Regions from separate parts of the Homo sapiens genome. Here all the other regions are linked to region 4. The links are contacts of gene promoters, found by promoter capture Hi-C in blood cells and fetal thymus (Javierre and others, 2016). All regions are on one chromosome and are shown on one strand. Each heading gives the region's core, a stretch centred on a gene start or on the middle of the fragment in contact. The rest is flanking DNA. Distances are from core to core; before and after follow the strand shown. Region 1 holds the start of SNRNP48 (small nuclear ribonucleoprotein U11/U12 subunit 48). Region 2 holds the start of SOX4 (SRY-box transcription factor 4). Region 3 holds the start of C6orf52 (chromosome 6 open reading frame 52). Region 4 holds the start of CD2AP (CD2 associated protein). Region 5 overlaps TMEM170B (transmembrane protein 170B).

Region 1 (2,700 bases), core at 93-2,592, about 40 Mb after region 4:
TGCTTTTAATACAATAAACAATGAATGGTATATACAGAAATCAAATATATTTTAAATGCCTCTGAGGAATCAGTCATGTAACTTAAACCCAGGAGAAATTATCACAGCATGGTAAACCCAGAAGTAATAGTAAAGATAATGAATTACCCCACATTGGAGCACTTCCCTTCCTCTCATTCCACCGAAAATACCCCACAAAAAAACAAAAATCACGAATGTTCACTCTAAATACACTTGCCTACATTTTTAAAAAAGCAATTCTAATGTCCACAGGAGTTGCCAGTTACCACCTCTTGGTGACAACCTTTAATAATCCTAGAATTGGTGCTGTCCCAGTCAGAAGTGTCCAATTTTAAGGCACAGAAAGGCGAACTGGCAAACTCCCAGCTCTCCTGACACCGAATCTGGTGCAACTGCGGAATCCGTATGACAGATGACAATGCAAACCGCCAATCCCTCTGCAGCGCTCTGAGACACGTTCACTTATTTTCTAAATAAATACCAAATCTGCCATTCCCTCCTCACTCAACACACCTTCCTGGATTTTGTTTGTTTGTTTTTTGAGACAGGGTCTTGCTCTGTCGCCCAGGCTGGAATGCAGTGGAGCGATCTCGGCTCACTGCAGCCTCGACCTCCTGGGCTCAAGCTATCCTTCCACCCCAGCCTCCCAAATAGCTGGGGCCACAGGCTCACACCACCACACCCGGCTAATTTTTGTACTTTTGGTAGAGAAGAGGTTTCACCATGTTGCCCAGGCTAGTCTGGAACTCCTGGGCTCAAGGGATCCTCCCGCCTTGGCCTCTCAAAGTGCTAGGATTACAGGCGTGCGCCACCGCGCCCGGCCCCCGGTTTTCTTTAAACTCGAAGTTGCGCGGGAGGAGCGCCGCACTGGAGGTCGATGTGGAGCCTTCGGGAGTTCCTCGCGCGCCCCAGCCCGGAACCCAGGGACGTCAGGGTTGCTCCAGGGCCCCCGGCGCCCCTCGGGTCCCAGGCGCCCATCGCGGCTCTGCACACGGACGAGGACTCCTCGCCCTTCCCTCCGCGGCTGCCAGTGCGGATCTCCCTTCTTCCAGAGAAGACCCCGGGCCGATAGTCCCCGAAAGGGCCCCGCGGCCGCGCTCCTCACCTCCGCCGCCTCCTCTTCCCCGGGATCCAGACTATCTAGGTCCCAGCCCAGGGACGCGGTCACCTCCTCCAACGTCCGGCAGCCGCTCTCCACGAACTCGTTCAGCTCCTCCTGCAGCCGCCGCCGCTCCTCCACAGGTGGAGGCTCGCCCTCCATAGCTGCAGCCCACCCGCCAAGAGGAAGCGGCCGAACTGCAGACCGCACGCGCAGGCCTCTGGGAGCTGTGGGCGGGGCCACAGTCGCCACGTGACTTGAACAGCCTATAGGGAAGAGTCCCGGGAAGGGCGGGACTGTTATTTTGAGAGGCGTTTTCCAATCTTTTCTCAGCTCTTGCGTGCATTTGCTCTGGCCTTTCCAGAAAGATATTCGCCCTCCTCGACTTCCTCAGAAAAAACGGCTTATAGCTACAGAAAAGTTTTAAAAATAGTACAATGAGCTTTCGTTTAGCCGTCCTTCAGCTCATTGTTAACATTTTGCCAGGTTTGATTTCTCTCCGTCTCTTCTCTCCACATTCACAGCCCCACCCAATGATTTTTGCTGAATTCTTTGAAAGTAAGTTGCAGATTTTTCACCCCCAAATATGTTAGCATGCATGTTCTAAGAATAAGAACATTTTCCTGTGTAACCGCAATACATGATCAAACCTAAGAAAATTAGTAAGTCCATAAAATCATTTATTATACAGTTCATATTCAAATTTCCCCATTGTCCCCAAAATTATTTCTATAGCAGTTTTATTTTTTCAACTCATAAGCTATAATTAGTTATTGTCTCTTTTAATCCAGATCAGCCTCCTTCACCCTCCTTTTTAAATTATTAAATCATTACATGTTGTGATGAGCCTAGGCCAGTTGTCTTGTAGAATCTCTCTCATTCTGGATTTGTCAGATTTTGTTTCCCTCATGATTAGATTCAGTTTGAGCACTTTTGCAATACTACCTAAGAGATGTTGCCAACTCACGGGGACGCATAACTCAGTTATATTAGTAATGCTAAATTTGATCACTTGGTAAAGGTGGTGGCTACATCTCTTCATTCTAATAGTACATTTTCCTCTTAGGAATTGGTAAGCAATCTGTGGATTATACCTTGAGTCCATAAGAATAACCTGTTCCCCAACTCCTTGATACAGTCCTTCACTGAATCTGTTGTTACATTAGGAGTTATAAGTGATTCCGCAATAGTATCATGCCTTTTATGTTTATTAACTGGCATTCTTTCCACACCTCCATTTTAGTGTTTGCTTCACTATGGGAATCAAGGTGTTTTTAAAGTTATTGATTTAAGGTTTTTTTTTAATTCAATATAATATACTCCTTTAACATCATAATTCTTGTTGATGCTCAAATTGTCCCAAATGTGGCCAGTGGAAGCCACATTAAGCCATCTGTGTCTTTCATGTATCCCTATTAGTCCTTGAATGCTTTCTTGCTTTGATAACACAAGCTTAACTTTGTACATTTCCTACCCAACACCTGGAATTAGCCCTTGTAGTTTCCCCAAATGGTTTCAACTCCTAGAATCTAACCCATTTTATATTACTTTTTAAAATTTTTTCAAGCCCAAGTGTCAAA
Region 2 (2,700 bases), core at 65-2,564, about 26 Mb after region 4:
GCGTTGCTGCTCCCGCCGCCGCCGCCGCCCCCATGGCCGCCCCCGCCACTGCCACCGACCTTGTCTCCCTTCTCCCCCGGCTTGGAGGAGGCGGCGGCCGAGGAGCTGGAGTTGGCGTTGCCGGACTTCACCTTCTTCCTGGGCCGGTACTTGTAGTCGGGGTAGTCAGCCATGTGCTTGAGGCGCAGCCGCTCCGCCTCTCGAATGAAAGGGATCTTGTCGCTGTCTTTGAGCAGCTTCCAGCGTTTGCCCAGCCGCTTGGAGATCTCGGCGTTGTGCATGTCGGGCGACTGCTCCATGATCTTGCGCCGCTCGATCTGCGACCACACCATGAAGGCGTTCATGGGTCGCTTGATGTGCCCACTCGGGGTCTTGCACCAGCTCGGGTCGTCGGCCTTGCCGCCCGTGGAGGCGGTGGAGCCGGGCGTGGGGGAGGAGGCGATTCCCAGCTCGAGGCCGGCGCCCGAGTCCGAGCTCTCGCCGGCCAGCAGCGCTTCCGTGTTCTCGGCATTGTTGGTTTGCTGCACCATGGCCTCGGCTCGGCGGGCGCCCACGCGCGCTCACACCCTCGCGGCGGCCGCCGCGCGATCGCCGGGCCCTCCCGGTTCCCCGGGCCAAGCACACGCCGAACGGGAAGACGCGCGCGGCGGCCGAACTGGCCCCTCAACTCCTCGCAGGGGCGGAGGTGGGTAAAGAGAGAAAAGTCCCCAAAAGATTTGGGGAAGGAGTTCTCCGCCTCTCGCAGAGGAGTTATAGTTCCCAGGCTGGAGAGTCTCTCTCTCCCTCTCTCTCGCTCTCTCACCGCGCTGCAGTTTGCTGTCTCTCGGCTGAGTCTGGAGACCGTGCTAAAGTAGAGAGGAGTTTCTCGAATGCTGGTTGCTGAAGCTTCCAATGCAAGTTTCTCGCGGCCTCCCAGGCAAGTCTTTTTTTTTTTTTTTTCTTTTTCCCTGAAGCAGTTGATTCCAGTTCACGAGCGCTCTCGGTAGCTCAGGAAAGCGACATAGTCTCTAGCACTTAGTCCCTCTCCTACAATGCAAAGCAAAAAAGACTGTGGCTCCAGGACTCTCTGTGGGCGGAATCGGCACTAAGGAGTTGGTGCAATTATTTTGTTGCAAGGTAGGAAGCCAAAAAGCCTGCATGCAACAGACTGGCATGAATAAATGTATGTTTCCCCCTCCCTTCTGCAAGAAGGGAGCTGGTAATGGCAGGAGTTCCTCCAGTGCAGACTCTTAAAGAGCGTGCAAGAACTAGAGACCCGACAGCGAAACAGGCCTCTTCCCCTCACACACAGTTTCTCTTGCTGCAGCTTAGAGCAGACCCCAATTCCGCCTCGCGCCTCTTTATCCTTTCACAGTCTTGGCTGCAGCCAATCAGCTGCTGTAACCAACGCTTCCTCATGCCAAACCCCTCCCCCGGGCTTCCCATTGGCTTGGAACCCGATGCAATAATAATCTCCGCGTGCAATGAGAAGCTCCAAATCTGACCTCATTCCAATTTACAGAGCAAACTTTTTAAAAGGGCTAGAAGTACAGCTGAGATTTCTGCTGCCTCTTTTTTCCTTTTGCTGTGTGTGTGCGCGCGCGTGTGTGTGCGCGCGTGCGTGTGTGTATAGTGTGTGAAGAGGATGTTAATGCATGAAATTATTAAGGGGAGAGACGGAAATGTATTCTAACCATTATGTTAGATAACAAGGGGCTTGGAACGGGGCGGGGTAAGGGTGAAATACTGTAAATGGAAGCTTTCTGCTTAAAAGCCAAGTGATTATTTTTATTAGTTCTTTTCAGCATTGGAATAAAGAATCAGCCTCTGGTGCAAAATCTGTTCCCCAGCTCTTTCTTAAAGCCAAAGCTGTAAAGGGGAAGAGAAAGCCACAAAACAATAAATCAATGGATATTGAAAACCATTAAGAAAGTGGTACCTAGACACCTGTCATCACAATTATTTTAACAACTCTAGGTACAGCACAGATGTTGATGTATTGTGTAAATCCCTTCAGAACCGTTTTTGTGCTGTTTGTGGAAGGCAGGGAAGAGGACTTTGCAATAATTGCTTACTCTCTTAACCAAGCAAGGGTCAACTATGGTTATTTAATGATTTAAACTCCCTGTAAATCCTGCATAGCCCAAACAGGGGAGCTTTCCCTTGAAACACATTAGGTAGTGCTCCGTAATTACCTCAATAGGCAGATTTCCAGAGTTTTGTATAGGATGTATAATGGCATGTAAAGGATGGAAATCGGTTTTACTTTCTAAATATTTGTTTTCCCTGTTTTCAAAATTAAAGATTGCTTCACTCTCTTCCCTCTCCTCCTCCCAAAGCCATCTTCCTCCTTTCCTTCTTATATATTTCCTCTTGTTACTTGAATCGAAGGGAACTGAAAAACCAAGGCAAAGAGAAACTGTAGAAGGAGGTGATAACTGGTAGCAGAAGAGAATGGGGCCTCCGGATTCATAGTAGACCTGGCTGCTAATCCTTCTTAATGGTTTGTAACTATGGGGATGTGGCCAAGTCTCAGTTTTCCTCATCTATTATATGGGAACACTAGGAGCTACTTTATAGAGGGTTGTTGTGAGGGTTCAATGAATTTGTGACTATGAAGCACCTGATGTATTGTAAGCCCTCAATGAATACTAATATCTTCCTTTCTAATTCAAATGCCAGACACACTCCTAGTAAAAGCTGCATGTTGTTCAAGAGGCT
Region 3 (2,700 bases), core at 60-2,559, about 37 Mb after region 4:
TTTCAGCCAAAGACAAAGAGCAAATAACTGGAGTAGGAAACAAAATAAACGAAAGCAATAGGCCAAGTGATATACTTCCAAATTTTCTGGATAATTAAAGACCGACGCCTTGACTTCATAAAGAAGTACTGTACTCAATTTTCTAGAAAATGCTTAGAATTGCTTCAAGAATAAAAGTGAGCTAGATGTTAGGAGGTCGGATTCCTAGTCGTGAGTATAGTCCTATCTACCTATTTGACTACTGATAATTTATTTGACCTTTTTATCTATTCACACATCTAGTAATATCATATTCTGCTGTAATTTCTCTCCATCTATGCGTCTCCTCAGTCCTCCACCCCTTATGTAGGCAACGTCTCTAAGGCAAGATCCATACCTCCAGCATCTTTGCATCTCCACCGCCCAGCTCGCCATAAGTTCCCAACAAATAATGAATTGGTATCGCTTTACCTATAAGGGATTTATCCTAATCTAGTTCTAGTAATTTGTAAAATTCCAGGGCAGAAATTCAGCAAAAGAGCGAGATCTTCTTTCATTAAATTCTGAATACTGTCAACTTATGGGATCGATCCTTAAATCCACAATCTACGACTCATTTGTCCGTATGCAGAAATGCCGGTTTCCTTTGTGTCCCGTGGACCTTTTGTCTACTAGAAAAGGCAGATATTGCCTCATTTTGATAAAATGTCCATTCTACGGTTTAAAAGGTTAGCTTTTCTCTTAAGTCTCTTAGGTTTGATTCATCAAATCATCCAGTGAACAGCAGGCGCTCCAATGTTCACCTCTGCTGTGTAGGAACCAAACCCGACCTTCCCGGCCCCGCCTCCGACTGTCTCTAACTACGCGGTATCTCACCTCGTGGTCGCCGCAAGCCTCGGGCTCCGGGTGTACAGCGAACCCAAAGAGGACCTGCTCGTAGCAACCAGCGACCAGCTCCATTCAGCAGCGCACGTGCCTCTTCCGCCAGCCCGGCTCAGCCTGGAGGTGACAGAACCGGAAACCAAAAAAAAAAAAAAAAAAACACCTGACTCCTTTCTGCATCGGCGCTCGAATTATACGTCAGGCTCCAGGGCTGCCTTTAAGTCGCCTGTAACGTGGAAACACTTTAAGCGCGGGGAGGTCACATGGATTTTCCAAGAAGAGAATAAGTAAAGATGCCACATGAGGAGGTTCTCACTGCAAGGAGAAAAAAATCGGGGGCAAGCAGGCATATCTCAGGAAGGTGCCAGCTACGCCCGTCTGAAGGGAGCGGGCGGGACATCCTCTGCGAAGCCCTTCATTTCCGTGACATCAGGAGGAGGTGGGGCCGACTTCCGGCCGGTTGCTTAGGGGCTGTAGCGCCGGCAGCGTGCATTGTTGTGGGCTGTGTACTAGTAGGGTAGGAGTTTTTGTTCAGGGACCAGCGGAACGAGGCTTTCTGTCGTTAATAGGGTAAGGAGGGGTGGGATTAGGGTTCGCGGTGACTTGTTCCAGCGGCGCAGCGCTCGCGCTGCCTTGACGGACTCGGAGTGCTAGATGTGTCCGCGTTCCCGTCTGCCCGGGCCAGAACCCCAGCCCTGCACACTTTCTCTGTCTGCTTGTCTAACTCTGGGGCTGTATTGGCCAAGGTTGCGGCACCTCCTGGGGAGGGAGCAGTGAGCCTTCATTTTTTTTTTTTTTTTTTTGAGACGGAGTTTCGCTCTTTTTGCCCAGGCTGGAGTCCGGTGGCGCGATTTCGGCTCACCGCAACCTCTGCCTCCCGGGTTCAAGCAATTCTCCTGCCTCAGCCTCCCGAGTAGCTGGGATTACAGGCATACGCCACCACGCCTGGCTAATTTTGTATTTTTTAGTAGAGACAGGGTTTCTCCATGTTGGCTAGGCTGGTTTTGAACTCCCGACCGCAGGTGATCCGCTTGCCTCGACCTCCCAAAGTTGCTGGGATTGCAGGCGTGAGCCACAGCGCCCGGCCAGAGCCTTCATTTGAGAGTTGGGAAAACAAAGTGAGCCTGAGCAACATATTTTGATGCCGTCTCTACAAAAATGTTATAAATTAGCCCAGCATGGCGACGCCCGCCTGTGGCCTCAGCAACTCGGAAGGCTGAGGTGGGAGGATTGCTTGAGCCCAGGAGGTCGAGGCTGCAGTGAGCCGAGATCGCTCCACTGCATTCCAGTCTGGGGGACGAGCCAGGCCCCCTTTCAAAGAAAAAAAAAGTTTTATTTAATAAGGTTTAGAGATTCAGGTATGTCTTAGACATTACAGCTTTCCTACAAGCTCCCAACAGAGTAAATCTTGGTTCGTATAGTTCTCATAAACACCGTAGTAGGTCATTTGGTAAACAAGATGCATAGTCCATCCTTCTCAAATCTTCAGCCTCCATTTCAAGTGCGATACAGTGCTTCAGCGCTTAGACCCTTTTGTTTCCAATAACTTTTCTTCTCTGGTGTTCTGAATTGTTAGTACGTGTTAATAGAGGCTAGTTTGGGTCTTGCAGAAATGATTTCATTTGGGATGCTTTGGTTGTCACTGCAGTGCAGAAAAGACCTTGTTATTGTTAGAAATAGATAATTGGTGACACGAAGAAAAGTCAGCATGGAGACAAAAGATCTCTCAGCAAGGCAATTTTTACTTTATGCAGAAAGGGTGCTCAATTGCAGATGGAACGATGGTGAGAGCACTCCTGAACAAAGGAAAAGCAGACATATTTGTCCCTTACGCCTTTG
Region 4 (2,700 bases), core at 51-2,550:
AGTTTAATGCCTAGCCCACACCGAACTTTGTTATCAAAAGAAATTGTTACACCACTTAACAAAACTCCTTTTCAACCCGGACTGCCACACATTCTGCCTTCTCTAACTTCAAACAAAACTATAAAGCACATAGTAAATAACATATAAGGCCTTGTATTTTTCTCTCCTCCGGCAAGGAAGTCTAACTCCAAACAGGAAACTGCTCCTCAAAGGATCCAACACTGAAGTCCAAACCCAGTCCTCGGGAGCACACTGAATGCTTAGGTGCCAACACACTTGCCTAGGTAGAACCCGAGTAAAACAAATACTCAAGCTTTCCTGTCCTTGAGGCACCCCTTGCGAGTTTCAGCAGGAAAAAAAAAAAGTTTTTGAACAAATTTATCTCTCTCCTTAAACGTATTCAAAGCCTCGCAGAAAATAAAGAAGTTGAAAGTGCTACTTTATCAAGTTTTTCGATCGCCCTCCCCCATCCCACGAGGAGGGGGAGGGAAGCAAGGGGATGAGGAAGGGAAGGAAGGTCAGGTCTGATTTTAGCTGGGCAAGGGGTTAGCAGAGGTGGCCAGGCGCCCCCGCCCCCCATCCCGCACCTTTCTGGTGAACAGGAAAAGAGGCGGAGAAGGGAGAGCGAGGGAAAGCACCCGCGAGCTCTCCCACCAGTTTCTCCGTGAGAAGAGCAAGGTGGAAGGCAGGGCAAGAAGGGGCGGTGGGGAGAATGGAGAGGGTGGGGTGCTGCCGCTCAGGGGCTGACCGCAGTCGCCTCCCCAGAAGGCCGAGAAAGGGCACAGCCTCCCCGGGTCTGGAAGGTCCGGACGGGCGGCGGGAAGCGCCCGAGTCTCTTACCCATGCTGGGGGCTCCCGCGGGGAGAAGCCGACGTCCGCTCCTCCTCCTCCTCCTCCAGTGGTGGCTCGCGCGGCCGCTCCCGCGGCTGGAGGCGGGACCCGCGCTCCGCGCTAGCCCCTCCTGAGCTCAGGCGGGGCGAAGAGTCGCCTCCATCCGCCCGCGGCGCTCTCCTACCAGTCTCTTCAGCGCGGCCCTCGAGGCAGAGGCAAAGGCGGCGACAGCTCCTCACCCCTGGCCTCCCCAGGAGCCACGGCGGCGGGAGGGCCCTACCCCGCCCGCCCGACCGCGGTTTTCCCACCCTGGCCGCTCCCGCAGTGGGGAGGGACCCACCGGTTTGCCCAGACCCTCGGCTCCAACCCCGAGCGCCCGCCTAGCCTCGGAGCCCGCCCCTCGCCTCTTCCTTAGCACTCGCAGTTAGAAAAGGCGACACCGTAGACTAAGGTGGGGACCCAGACAGAGGCCGAGAAGGTGCGGGGAGCTGGGACCGGGAGGAGGCAAATCTCGCGAGAACGCCCTCGTTCTCCCCGCCCCACCCCGCCCCGTCGCGTTCGGGCTCTCTCCCGGTCCCCACGGCTGCTGCCAGGTGCGGTGACGTCACGGCCGGGGGTCGCGCGCCGACCGCGTCCAGGTGCAGCGAGCGGATGAGGAAGCGGTGCAGAGGAGCTTGGGCTCGCTCTCCCCCCGGAGGCTCGGAACAGCTTGGGCGGGCGTTTGGTCTGGTTTGTCGCCTCAGATGGATCAAAAGGTTTCTGCTGATAGGCAAAGTTGCCCCACTTTCCGCGGCGGCGACGCGGAGTTACTTTCTGCAGCGAAGCAGCCTCGAGGACCTTAAAGGGAAAAGGCGGACAGAAGGAGGGCGAGCGCACTTGATTTCGACCTTTAAGGGAGGCCCAGATGCTGCCAGGCCCCTCAGTTTACCTTGCGAAGTTACTTACGGATCAGCAGCATTTGGTCTTCGTCGGGTGAGGGAGAAACCTAGGCATCAAATAAATTCTGTTTCACAGATTCCTTTAGTCTCTTGTCAGCTGAATGCAACTTTATAATTTGCTTTTTTTCTTTTTAAAGTATAATTTGAGTTGTTACTTGATCGAGAGAAAAATAGGCATCATGATTTGAAATACTGCCAGGCATTTTTTCTAGCGTCAATGTGAAGGAGGGCATAGGATTACTATAGTCAGTCAAACATGAGCTTGGTAGTTACGAAGAAGTATAATTATTTCAGCAAGCTTTTTTTCCCCCTTCTGTTTAAGTAGACCCAATTCCAGGGCAGATGTGTGTGTGAGCGTTTGTTGAACGCCAACTATTGTGCCTAGTGCTTTTTCAAGAAATTTTGTAATTCTCAGTCATCCAGCACTGAAACTGACTTGCCCTTTGGATCCAGGCAGACATGGGTCCTTGAAACTCAGCACAGCCATTTACTTTTTGTGGGACCTTGGATAAATTAACCTGTCTGAACTTCAATTTCTTGAGTATGTTCAAACAAATCTTGCAATGCAGAGCACAGTGGCCCATAGTAGTAACCTTGGACGTATCCATTACCACTATTTCCTATAGGCCTGCTTTTGCCATCTTTTAATTCTTCTAATGCTTCTCAAAAGGTTACATGTGGTAATTTTATAACAAGAATGATCAAACTCACAAACAGCAGCCAAAAAGGATAAAAGAAAAAAGTTGAATATACTCACCTAAACAAGATTACATTGACATCATGGAACATGTGCCTTTTTTAGGTAACAAATATGTGTTCAGCATTATGTTCGTTGTCCCCTACCAAGCAAAAAAATAAAAAGCTAAAGTACAGCGCTAATCCTCAGAGATTTTGCATTCTTCTAGGGGGGTGAGATACGAACACAAAGTTA
Region 5 (2,700 bases), core at 165-2,664, about 36 Mb after region 4:
AGAAATAATATATGTAAAGTGCCTAACACACAGCGGCCATTCAACAAATGACAGATGTTTCAGAAGTTGTGTTTACTCGCCTCTTTTGAGCAGACAAAGTTGTAAATGGCACTGTAGGCAGCATCTGTTAACTAATGATTAAGATACACACCAAATCACTAAGGTCACTGGCATGGAGAAGGCCACAATGAATCCCATCAGAATATTATCACTTATAGACTGCCACTGTTGAGAAGAGATGTGGTTCCTAACGTGGTACACTCTACCACTAGTGAAACATATTTCTAATCTGTTTCTTTCTGCATTTTTATCCTGACGCCTAGAATTTCACATATTCAGACAGTAGTTATTTCCTAGTAGAGGTTCCCATGGTCCTCAGTCCCGCCTCAGTCCTAGTTTGGGATGTTCGGCATATCCTTTATGAAATGGCAAGGTCCAATGAGCAACTGGCAAGTATTAAGATCATATTGAAAGACATATTGGAGCTAACCCTGGATGAATAACTACTATTATCAGCTTAATGGTTGACTTGCAGAACTGGAGGCAATTATAATCATTAGAATCTTACTTATTTAAAAATATTGTTGAAGCTGGCCAGGAGTTAAGTTACATTTACATTTACTCTATGGCTCCCAAAGCTAACTTTCTCTAAAAACCCTTTGATGAGCTAATCCAGTGATTAATATCTACAGGCATACCTTGTTTTATTGTACTTCACTTTATTTTGGCTTTTACAAATGGTAAGTTTGAGGCAACTCTGTGTCAAGCAAGTCTATCAGTACCATTTTTCCAACAGCATGGGCTCACTTTGTGTCACATTTTGGTAATTCTAACAATATTTCAAATTTTATTATCTTATTATTATTTTATTATTGTATTTTATTATTATAGTGATCTGTGATAAGTGATCTCTGATGTTACTATTTTACTCGATAATTTACTCGATAAATCTTGTGTGTTCTCACTGCTCCACCAACCAGCCATTCCTCAGTCTCTCTCCCTCTCCTCGGGTTTCCCTATTCCCTGAGATACAACAATATTGAAATCAGGCCAACTAATAATCCTACATTGGCCTCTGAGTGTTCAAGTGAAAAAAAGAGTCAGATATCTCACTTTAAATCAAGTGCTAGAGATGATAAAGCTTAATGAGGAAGGCACGTTCAAAGATGAGTTAGGCTGAAAGCTAGGCCTCTCGTACCAAACAGCCAAGTTGCAAATGCAAAGAAAAATTCTTAAAGGAAATTAAAAGTGTTACACTAGTGAACACACAAATCATAAGAAAGCAAAACAGACTGCTCTCTGATATGAAGAAAGTTTGAGTGGTCTAAATAGAAGATGAAACCAGCTACAACACTCCCCTAAGCCAAAGCCTAACCCAGAGAAAGACCCCAACTCTCTTCAATTCCATGCAGGCTGGGATGTGAGAAAGCTGCAAAAGAAAGTTTGATACTAGCAGATGTCAGTTCTTTAGGTTTAACAAAAGACACCTCTATAACATAAAAGTGCAAGGTGAAGCAGCAAATGCTGATGTAGAAGCACAAATTATCCAGAAGATCTAGCTAACTGATGAAGGTGGCTACCCCAAACAACAGATATTCCATGTAGATTAAACAGCCTTATATCAGAAGAAGATGCCATTTAGGACTTGCACAGCTAGAGAGAAGTCAATCCCTGACTTCCAAGCTTCAAAGGACAGGCTGACTCTTCTTAGGAGCTAATGCAGCTGGTGACTTTATATTAAAGCCAATGCTCATTTACCATTCTGGCGCCCTTGAGAATTATGCTAAATCTACCCTGGCTGTGCTCTATAAATGAAACAAAAAAGCCTGGATGACAGTACATCAGTTTACAGCACGGCCTACTGAATATGTGAAGCCCACTGTTGAGAACTGCTCAGAAAAAAAAAAGATTCCTTTCATTTTAATGAGTATTTTCTTCAATGACAATGTACCTGGTCAACCAAGAGCTGTGATGGAGATGTCCAAGTAGATCAATGTTGTTTTCATGACTGCTAACACAACATCCATTCTGCAGACCATGGATCAAAGAGTAATTTTGACTTTCTAGTCTTATTATTTAAGAAATACACTGTGTAAGAAGGCTAAAACTGCCAGAGATAGTGATTCCTCTGATGGACCTGGGCAAAGGAAATTGAAAACCTTCTGGAAAGGAGTCACCATTCCAGATGCCCTTAAGAACAATCGTGACTCATGAGAAGAGGTCCAAATATCAACTTTCATAGGAGTTGGAAAGCAATTGACTCCATTCCTCATGGATGACTTTGAGGGGATCAACACTTTAGTGGAGGAAGTAACCATAGGTGTGGTCGAAATAGCAAGAGAACTAGAATTAGAAGTGGAGCCTGAAGATGTGACTGAATTGTTGCAATCTCATGATAAAGTTTGAATGGATGAGGAGTTGCTTCTTATGGATGAGCAAAGAAAGTGGTTTCTTGAGATGCAATCTACTCCTGGTGAAGATCATGTGAACACCGTGGAAATGACAACAAAGGATTTAGACTATTAGATAAACTCGGTTGATAAAGCCGCAGCAGGGTTTGAAAGGACTGACTCCAATTTTGAAAGTTCTACTGTGGATAAAATGCTACCCAACAGCATCCCATGCTACAGAGAAATCTTTCATGAAAGGAAGAGTCTATTGCTCTTCCTTAGTGGCAAACTTCATTGCTGTTTTAAGAAA

Evidence for each region. The method cuts DNA at HindIII sites, captures the fragments that hold promoters and counts their contacts. A CHiCAGO score of 5 or more calls a contact.
Region 1: the fragment with the promoter of SNRNP48 here is called in contact with the fragment with the promoter of CD2AP in region 4 in 2 of 17 cell types (non-activated CD4 T cells and total CD4 T cells); the score reaches 14.7 in non-activated CD4 T cells.
Region 2: the fragment with the promoter of SOX4 here is called in contact with the fragment with the promoter of CD2AP in region 4 in 5 of 17 cell types (activated CD4 T cells, total CD8 T cells, total B cells and 2 more); the score reaches 15.0 in activated CD4 T cells.
Region 3: the fragment with the promoter of C6orf52 here is called in contact with the fragment with the promoter of CD2AP in region 4 in 1 of 17 cell types (total CD4 T cells); the score reaches 10.2 in total CD4 T cells.
Region 5: a fragment that was not itself captured here is called in contact with the fragment with the promoter of CD2AP in region 4 in 1 of 17 cell types (non-activated CD4 T cells); the score reaches 7.7 in non-activated CD4 T cells.

What each region holds. Positions count from the first base shown.
Region 1 is chr6:7,588,840-7,591,539 of GRCh38, reverse strand. It overlaps SNRNP48 (small nuclear ribonucleoprotein U11/U12 subunit 48), which reads right to left and starts at 1,342. Exons shown (of 9, transcript NM_152551.4): 1 at 1,127-1,342. The coding sequence starts at 1,282. RefSeq lists enhancers at 1,118-1,267, 846-1,585. The HindIII fragment of the contact is 5,411 bases long and covers 1-2,574 here.
Region 2 is chr6:21,592,365-21,595,064 of GRCh38, reverse strand. It overlaps SOX4 (SRY-box transcription factor 4), which reads right to left and starts at 1,314. Exons shown (of 1, transcript NM_003107.3): 1 at 1-1,314. The coding sequence starts at 530. RefSeq lists a silencer at 524-703. The HindIII fragment of the contact is 853 bases long and covers 888-1,740 here.
Region 3 is chr6:10,693,225-10,695,924 of GRCh38, reverse strand. C6orf52 (chromosome 6 open reading frame 52) reads left to right here and starts at 1,309. Exons shown (of 5, transcript NM_001145020.3): 1 at 1,309-1,431. It overlaps PAK1IP1 (PAK1 interacting protein 1), which reads right to left and starts at 953. Exons shown (of 10, transcript NM_017906.3): 1 at 856-953. The coding sequence starts at 939. RefSeq lists enhancers at 926-1,305, 735-1,337, 1,346-1,395. The HindIII fragment of the contact is 16,030 bases long and covers 1-2,700 here.
Region 4 is chr6:47,476,389-47,479,088 of GRCh38, reverse strand. It overlaps CD2AP (CD2 associated protein), which reads right to left and starts at 1,300. Exons shown (of 18, transcript NM_012120.3): 1 at 841-1,300. The coding sequence starts at 844. CD2AP-DT (CD2AP divergent transcript) reads left to right here and starts at 1,017. Exons shown (of 1, transcript NR_187257.1): 1 at 1,017-1,846. RefSeq lists an enhancer at 16-742 and a silencer at 1,029-1,538. The HindIII fragment of the contact is 1,754 bases long and covers 316-2,069 here.
Region 5 is chr6:11,540,183-11,542,882 of GRCh38, reverse strand. All of the region lies in intron 1 of TMEM170B (transmembrane protein 170B), which reads right to left. Among named protein-coding and RNA genes, the nearest start is that of TMEM170B, 3.8 kb to the right of the region's middle. The HindIII fragment of the contact is 542 bases long and covers 1,144-1,685 here.